2 separate regions of the Homo sapiens genome follow, and region 2 is linked to region 1. The links are contacts of gene promoters, found by promoter capture Hi-C in human tissues and cell types (Jung and others, 2019). All regions are on one chromosome and are shown on one strand. The core of a region is centred on a gene start or on the middle of the fragment in contact, and the rest is flanking DNA. Distances in the headings are between cores, read along the strand shown.

Evidence for each region. Contacts are between HindIII fragments. The study calls those that stand out against the background at their distance.
Region 2: a contact is called between a fragment that was not itself captured here and the fragment with the promoter of MICAL3 in region 1, in 2 of the 25 tissues and cell types used here (dorsolateral prefrontal cortex and lymphoblastoid cells).

Annotation. Positions count from the first base shown.
Region 1 is chr22:18,022,654-18,027,012 of GRCh38, forward strand. It overlaps MICAL3 (microtubule associated monooxygenase, calponin and LIM domain containing 3), which reads right to left and starts at 1,908. Exons shown (of 32, transcript NM_015241.3): 1 at 1,628-1,908. RefSeq lists a silencer at 1,636-2,045. The HindIII fragment of the contact is 7,498 bases long and covers 1-4,359 here.
Region 2 is chr22:18,151,186-18,155,544 of GRCh38, forward strand. The region is part of intron 1 of USP18 (ubiquitin specific peptidase 18); the gene reads left to right. Among named protein-coding and RNA genes, the nearest start is that of USP18, 3.2 kb to the left of the region's middle. RefSeq lists enhancers at 1,405-1,654, 4,137-4,359. The HindIII fragment of the contact is 3,638 bases long and covers 259-3,896 here.

The sequences.
Region 1 (4,359 bases), core at 658-3,157:
CCTGGCCCCAAGTGATCTGCCTACCTCGGGCTCCCAAAGTGCTGGGATTACAGGCCTGAGCCTCTGCGCCCAGCCCCCTCTTCTGCTTTCTAAGTGTCCATTCTCCTTGTAGTGAGTGGGTGGTGGGGGGATATACACATGTGACTCTGGTTAGTACATAGGCAGCCATGAAGTCCACAAATGTACAGGGAGCCACAGCTTTCATGCTACAGACTTGCAAAGGTATGCATCTGCTTTCCCCTTGCCCTGGAATATAGATCAGAACACTTCATTTAGTGAAGGGACCTGTTCCGAGAGTGATGATCCCTCCCTCGTTTGAGACACTGCCTTCATCCTGAGCTTCTTGGAGCAGCCCAAGGCCCTGCCAGCTCTCTTTGCCTGTAGCTTGTAGGCATTTATGACAGTTGCATACCCTGCCCTCCAACGGCAGCCTGAGAGACTGAACTATTACCAAGTTCACCTGGAAAAATGTCACCCTGATTGATTAGAATGGTGGGTGGCCATCTTAGCTCATTAGAATCACCTGGGAAGTTAAAAAAAAAAAATCCAGTATGCACTCCAAATTTTCCCACCACCACTCCTCCCCACAAAAAGAAAATTTAAAAAATCCCAGTGTTTGGGCCATATCCCAGACCAATTAAGTCAGAATCTCCAGGGATTGGACCCAGGTAGCAGGATTTCTAAAAATCTCCCCAGCAGCCAGGCCTGAGAGCTAATGAATAGCACCACAGGGCCCAGCCTTTCAGCCTACAGCTTGTCTCGGTTTCACCCTTTTTTCATTTCTTTACAATGAAAATTCTAAATAGTTGATCACAGTGCCAGACCAATAAGAAAGCATTTTAGGGAGGAGAGAGGAGGGAAGGGGTTGGCAGGCACGGAGAGGACTTGACACACAGAAAGCATTTTGCTATGGAGTCATAACCATTTGATTCTAAGACACATGCAGCCTCCAGAAGTCATGCGGCCCCGCCCTCTGCTTCCAGGAGGGAATGAACTTGGCCGTCCTTTTGTTGCACACGCCCGGGAGCTGCGCCGGCGCAGCGCGCCCTGCAGCCTGGGAGCGCAAGCGTGTGCGCCACTGGTCCTGGGCCACCACCGCGCGCCGCGGGCGGGTGCAGGGCCCCTCTGCCGCAGGGAAACCGGCGTTCCCCGCGCAAAGCAGCCGCTGCTCCTAATGAGCTCATGGGTTCACCGCGCTGAGCTAGCCAGAGCGGACCCGGCTTCGCCAAGGGCCTGCTGGCTGTCCTGACACCTGGCCTACCTCGGGGGTGCCTGGGTACGCTCTTCCTTTGCCTGCGGGATAGAAGCACAATGAAAATGGGGTGGACGTGGCTGGGAGACAGCCCTGCTCTCTGGCAGGCTCTGGGGAGTGTGTGGTACGTGGCATCCGCACTGGTGGGTGTCGTGCGATGATCGAGACACGGATACTGGGTGTCTTTCCCACTAGGGGAGAGAGGGCTGCGTTTAGAGGGAAACGAAATAGATCCGAGAAACACAAAGATGTCACAAAGGAAACGCTTCCCCACCATAAGCAATCTAAATAAATGATTCTTAGAAGACATCCAGCAAAACACATAACCTTGTCATTTAGATTCGCTCGCCCACAGGGGGACTGGAGGGTACTCACCGACTAGGGCTTCACAGCCGCATCACCGCCGGCGGTGGGCGCCTGCCTCGGCAGGGGCAGGGTGGGTGCCCGCAGGGCACAGGTGCCGCCGTGGCTGCTCGCACAACCCCTGCAGCTGCGATCCCGCCCAGTTAGCCTCGGGGGCTGCACAGCCCAGCCCCCTCGCCCAGGGCCCAGGGGTTCTCAGGCCGCGCGGCGAGGACGGAGGGCTGCCCCGGGTGCCTGCCTACGCGGGCGCTCCCCGCCGGGACTCCGCCGGGGCTGCAGGAGCGCGCGCTGCTGGCTGGGCGGGCTGCGGCTCCGCGCGAGCGCCGTGGCAACGCGAGCGGGCGCCCCCAGGAGGCCGCGGAGCTGCGGCGTGGGACGCTTGGGTGAGGCTCAAGCCAAAACCAAACCCAAACCATTTCTCCTCCTCCCCATCTTTTCATTTTCTCCCCTTCTTTTCATTTTCTCCCCTTCTCCAACCCCTTCCTCGACACACGTTACTAGCACCTCGAAGGTTGGAAATTCCAGCACTCTCCTGAGGCCTCTTCCCCAGCGAATCCTGCTAACCACGCAGTCGGTGTTCGCTGTGTGTTCGAGCACACACCTCCTTGCAGTGGCTTCAGCACCCAGGTCTCCGGGAGCCAGTGAAGGAACCAAGTGTTGGATACTGAGCAAGTCGCGTAACATCTGAGTAGTCGTGAAATTGAAATTTCAACGGTATAAAGGACACGACGTTGTCTTACAGATTGAAAAATGCTATAAAATGAAGTTCTTACTGTTACTATGATGATGACCCTGGAGATCAGCGCAGAGCCCTGGGGGAGGGCTACAGTTGCAAGCGCTCCAAGGATCAGATCGCGCACTCCTCCCCACCGGAGAAAACCTCTTGATGCCGGAGCCCGGGCAGCCTCTTCCACACTTCCAGCCAGCCCCTTCCACACTTCCAGCCAGCCCCGGCATTGCCACAGCCCGTGGAGCTGGACAGAAATCCACCAGGCACTAAAATAAGTTAGATGGAAGACGGGATGGATTTGACCAAATTCCTATCAGCATCTGCTCAGTATAATTGCAACATTATAATCAGAGCAGAAAGAAGCCCAGAGATTATTTTGTCTTCAAGGATCATTGGCCTCAGTATTATCTCCATCTGAAGCTGTGTTGTCCAAAGCAGATTGACTCCAGCCGGCCAGCTCAGAAGAGGGCCGACTCTGGGCTGGCGACTCCTTGAGAAGGGCTCTCTCTGGTCCCAGGTGGTATTTACTTAACCGTATCATCATCTGCTTCATTCGTGTTCCCTTCATGTCCATCATGTGAGGACGGGAACTGACAGGGCCAGGGTGTCGGCTCAGAGGCAATCTCTGCTCATCCTCTAGAGCCCCACTTCATCACCCAGCCACTCTGTCCACTGTCTCCCCACCTACAAACCTGCAGGTGTTCTGCCCCAGTACTAGAATAAGGGAACACATTTTTACTGAGCTCTGACAATGTGACTGGGCTTTTCAGGAGCTATTTCATTTAATTTTTAATGTAAAACATTGTTTTACATATTAAGAACCTAAAAGCACAAACAGTAAGTAACTTGCTTGTGGAAGCTTATGCAGCGAGATAAGTGGTAAAGCTGCAATTCCCAGTTTTGTTTGATGCCACAGCTGAAGGTGCAAGGCCATCTGGGCACGGCCTGAGTGGATATTAGGGAAAAATGCCCTAAAAGGTCCAGAATCTCTAATAATTTCTCCTACTTCTCATTTTATTTTATTTTTGACGCTGGAGTTTTTTTTTTTTTTTTGAGTCAGGATCTTGCTCTATTGCCCAGGCTGGAGGGCAGTGGTGCAATTTCAGCTCACTGCAACCTCTGCCTCCCAAGTTCAAGCGATTCTCCTGCCTCAGCCTCCTGCATAGCTGGGACTACAGGCATGCACCACCATACCCAGCTAATTTTTGTGGAGATGGGGTTTTGCCACATGGCCCAGGCTGGTCTCAAACTCCTGAGCTCAAGCGATCTGCCCTCATCAGCCTCCCAAAGTGCTGGGATAACAGGCATGAGCCACTGCACTAGGCGAAAACGTTTATTTTAGAAAAACTGAAAAATATAGAAACATAAAGGAAGAAAAGCATTCATAATCTCATCACCTAGAGAAAGCCATTAGTAATATTCATATTTCTTTCCAGTCTTTTTTCTAGCTTTCTAGCTTTAAACTAAGTTGAGATAAAACCACACACACACACACACAGACACACAAGTGCATCCTGCTTTTTGTTAAAAATAACTTTGTGGGAAATTCTTCCTCCTTTGAGGATTTTTAAAAAACATTAATTTAAATGTCATACAATATTTTTATCATATGAATATCTCATAATTTCCCTTTTATTGAATATTTCCAACTTTTATTGATTGTAAATAATGGCAATAAAATTTTTTCTTCATAAATCTTGCTCCTATGTGTGAATAATTTCCTTCCAGGTGAGTCCCAGAAGTGGAATATTGAGTCCAAGGGTATTAACATTTTAAAGACTTTCCAATCCTCTCCAATGGGGATATCCAACTCACCCAGCCCCGTTCCCCACAGGACCTGCACGGTCCCACTCCACTGCCCTCCACACATCTGTTGTGCCCTCACCTGGTATATAGCATTTAAATTATTTAGCTCACAAACTCTTTGGGAAACTAGGGTTAGTTCTTTGTAGCTTTTTGGTTGATTATTTTGATTTACTCAGAAAAACGCAGTATCTCCTTTACTATTTTAAAA
Region 2 (4,359 bases), core at 828-3,327, 130 kb after region 1:
TTTAGTCTTAACCTCTCTTCTTCACACCCTTTTCCTTGGAAGAAAGCTAAATTTAGACTTTTAAACACAAAACTCCATTTTGAGACCCCTGAAAATCTGGGTTCAAAGTGTTTGAAAATTAAAGCAGAGGCTTTAATTTGTACTTATTTAGGTATAATTTGTACTTTAAAGTTGTTCCAGAAAACAAGGCAAATACTGAAAAGCATTTCATCTGAAGTTTCTTTCTGGTATTGAACAGAGTTGGATGGAGAGTGAATGCAGGTTACCGATGTGTTCGCAGGAACAAAACGGGAGGGAGAGTAACACAGGTGCACGGCTTCATATTGATTTATCAAAGAACTTGCTTTTGGACTGTTAAAAAATGTGTTGCACAGTTCTGACACTTTTACACAATGATGAGCTTACAAAGGGGAAAATGCTTAACATAAACATAGTTTCAAAGAAGGTAAGTCCTAGTTTTTCCACGAGCTGTTTTTTTTTTTGAGAGAGAGTAGTCCCAAAATTTCCCTATTATGTGGTTTTTCATCCAAAGTGTTGTAATCCGTGTGTTCTAACCCGCATATTACGATTACTCAAGAAATGCAAAATAGGCCGGGCGCGGTGGCTCACGCCTGTAATCCCAGCAATTTGGGAGGCCGAGGCAGGTGGATCACGAGGTCAGGAGATCAAGACCATCCTAGCTAACACGGTGCAAACCCATCTACTAAAAATAAAAAATATTAGCTGGGCGTGGCGGCAGGCGCCTGTAGTCCCAACTACTCGGGAGGCTGAGGCAGGAGAATGGCGTGAACCTGGGAGGCGGAGCTTGCAGTGAGCCAAGATCCGGCCACTGCACTCCAGCCTGGGCGACAGAGGGAGACTCCGTCTCAAAAATAAAAATAAAAATAAAAAAAGAAAAAAGAAATGCAAAATAATGTGAACACGTCATCGAGACTGCGGTCTACAATTGTGGTTGCCATGATGGGGTGGGTCGGAAGACACCGAGGCTGCTTGAATCATGTTCCTGGCAGGTTAATTTTGTTCCTTTTAGGGCATCTAAATGTTGGAGTTGGCTTTCCTGGCAGAGAGTCCAGTTGTGAGTGGAGTATTGGGTGGAGGCCCCACCCTCCCCAGGTTTTCTGCAGCTTGTTCCTGGCTCTTCTGGGGCTTCTCTGAGGACCCCGATTGGTCCTGGGGCTTCTTTAGTGGTGGGCCTGGGCCAGTTCCTTCCGTTGCTCACCTCTCCCCGAAGCTTAAGGATAACATTTCGGGAAGATCATGAGAGAACGTGAACCAAAAAAAAAAAAAAAAATTCAGGTAGGGTGGGAGCTAAGTTAGTTTAGTATTTGGGATTTTTGTTTTGTTTTGTTTGAGACAGAGTCTCAAACAAAGACCCCGCGCCTGGCCTGGGGGTCTTTTTTTGAGTCAGCAGTTGAGTTTGAAAATCCCCTTCCTTGGAATCCGCCCAGGCTGTTTTCTCTGGTGGATGCTTATTGCCCCTGCTAACTTCAGCTGCGGTCTCTCTGCTCGCCTTGCCCTCCCCATCCTCCTTAGACCTTTTAAGCTTCACTTTCCTTTCCTTGCTGCCCCGCCTCCCTGTCTCCCCAGTGTGATCTACCCTGAAAGGCTGCTGTATTTTGTTTCCCTTTGGGACCGAGCCTGCTCAAATGATCTGCTCCATGAGGTTTTACTGCTATATCCTACTGAAGTATCTGGGAGGTCTTGGCGGAGAAGAGGACAACATCTTGGAAAATGCAGCCTGGAACCTCTCTGCTCTCTTTCATCAGCTTTCCCTCAATGATGAGCTCAAAATCCTCTTTCTTGCTGATGGAATTGTCTGCTGTCATCATTTCAGTTGAGTCCTCCTAGGCTGGGCCTTGTAAGAAGAACAACTGTTTATAACTATTGAAAGTCAATATTTACTAAGAAAAAGAGGTTGTTGTTATCTGAGCCATCCAACATGAATTTAAGAATATATTCCAGGCTGGGCGCGGTGGCTCATGCCTGTAATCCCAGCACTTTGGGAGGCCGAGATGGGTGGATCACCTGAGGTCAGGAGTTCAAGACCAGCCTGGCCAACATGGTGAAACCCCGTCTCTACTAAAAATACAAAAATTAGCCATGCGTGGTGGCACATGCCTGTAGTTCCAACTATTTGGGACACTAAGGCAGGGGAAGTGCTTGAACTCGGGAGGCAGAGGTTGCAGTGAGCTGAGATTGTACCACTGCACTCCAGCCTGGGTAAAAAGAGTGAAATTCCATCTCAAAAAAAAAAAAGGAGACAGGGTCTTGCCCTGTTGCCCAGGCTGGAGTGCCGTGGCACGATCATAACTCACTGTGGCCTCAAATTCCTGGGCTCAACTGATTCTCCTGCCTCAGTCTCCCAAGTAGCTGGGACCACAAGTACATGCCACCATGCTAGGCTAATTTTATTTTTATTTTTAGAAAATAAAATATTTTTTATTTTATTTAGGCAACATGCTATGTTGCCTAGACTGGTCTTGAACTCCTGGCTTCAAGCTATCCTCTTGCCTCAGCCAACCAAAGTGCTGGGATTGCAGGTGTGAACTGCCATGCCTGGCTTTCTATTCTCTATTTCTAGGAGATAAGCTTTTTGAGCTTTCACATATGAGTGTGAACATGTGGTATTTATCTTTCTGTGCCTAGGTTATTCCACTTAACGTAATGTACTCCAGGCTCATCCATGTTGATGGGAATTACAGGATTTCATTCTCTTGTAATGGCTGAATAACATCCCATTTTGTGTATATAGTCCACATGTTCTTTATCCATTCCTCTTTTGATAGACACTTAGGTTGATTCCGTATCTCGGGTATTATGAGCAGTGCTGCAGTAAACATGAGAGTGCAAATATCTCTTCAACATACTGATTCCCTTTCCTTTGGATATATATTCAGCAGTGGCATTACTAGATCATGTGGTATATCTATTTTTAGGTTTTTAAGGAATCTCCATACTGTTTTCCATAATGGCTCTACTAATTTACATTCCCACCAATGATTTGGTTGAGTTTATTCCTCACTCTGAGCAGCATGTTAGCTGGACTTAAACCCCGTCCAGCTTGTCTACATCTGGCCCATCACTTGCCAGTGGGAAAGGCACTTACTTCTTTGTATCTCAGTTTTCTCATCTGTCAAATGGAAATATAACAGTAATTAATTCACATGGCTGTGTAAGGATAAATAAGACAGTACATATAAAAGGCTTTCACCTTTTATAAGAAATAGTGCTTCGATGTTACCCATTATTATTATTTTATTTCATCTTATTTATTTATTTAGATACAAGGTCTCATTTGTTGCCCAGGCTGGAGTGTAGTGGCACAATCATAGTTCAGTGCAGCCTCAAACTCCTGGCCTCAAGTGATCCTCCTCCTTCACCCTTCTCAGTATTTGGGGCCACAGGCGTGCACCACTATGACCATCTAAATTTTTTTTTAGAGATGGGGTCTCAGTATGTTGCCCGGGCTAGTCTTGAACTCCTGGGCTCAAGTGATCCTCCCACCTCAGCCTCCCAAACTGCTGGGATTACAGGCCTGAGCCACCATGCCAGGCCTCATCTCTATATCTTTAGGGTTAGTCACTGGCACCTTAATTTGTTCATTTGGTGATGTCATGTTTCTCTGATTGACCTTGATCCTTATGGCTGTGTGTCAATGTCTGTGCATTGACATAGGTACCTAAGCCAGTCTTCATTGCCTGGCTTTGTTTGGGCTCGTCTTTCATCAGGAAACCCATAGGAGATTAGGGAGAGGCTGATTGGTCAGGACCCTAAGCCCATGACTGCTTCAGCTGTTGTAGTGCTGGGGGGTGCTCTAAGCCCAGCATCACTGTGGTTGGAATTCTTTGGCCACTGAGGCTGACACAGCCCTGGGTTATGCCTGAAGGCCATAGCTGCCGAGACTGGCACAGCACTGGGGCACGCCCAAGACCCACAGCTGTGATGGCGTGCTTGCTGCTGCTGAAGTTATTCAGGGCCCAGGGCCACTGTAGTTGTCAGGTAGTGATGTGGGCCAGATCGCCAGTCCCTGTTACTGGGGCTGTGGGTTCTCATCTGGCACTAGGGTGGGGTGAGATCTGCCTGTGGGTACTGGTCTAGTATCAGGGTGATGAGGCTCTGCCCAGTACTGGGTTTTACTGTAGTGAGCCTAGTCCTGGTGACAGGTGACAGCGTGCTGGCAGCCATCACAGCCCTCGCTCGCTCTCGGTGCCTCCTCGGCCTTGGCGCCCACTCTGGCCACGCTTGAGGAGCCCTTCAGCCCACCGCTGCACTGTGGGAGCCCCTTCCTGGGCTGGCCGAGGCTGGAGTGGGCTCCCTTAGCTTGCGGGGAGGTGTGGAGGGAGAGGCAGGGGCGGGAAC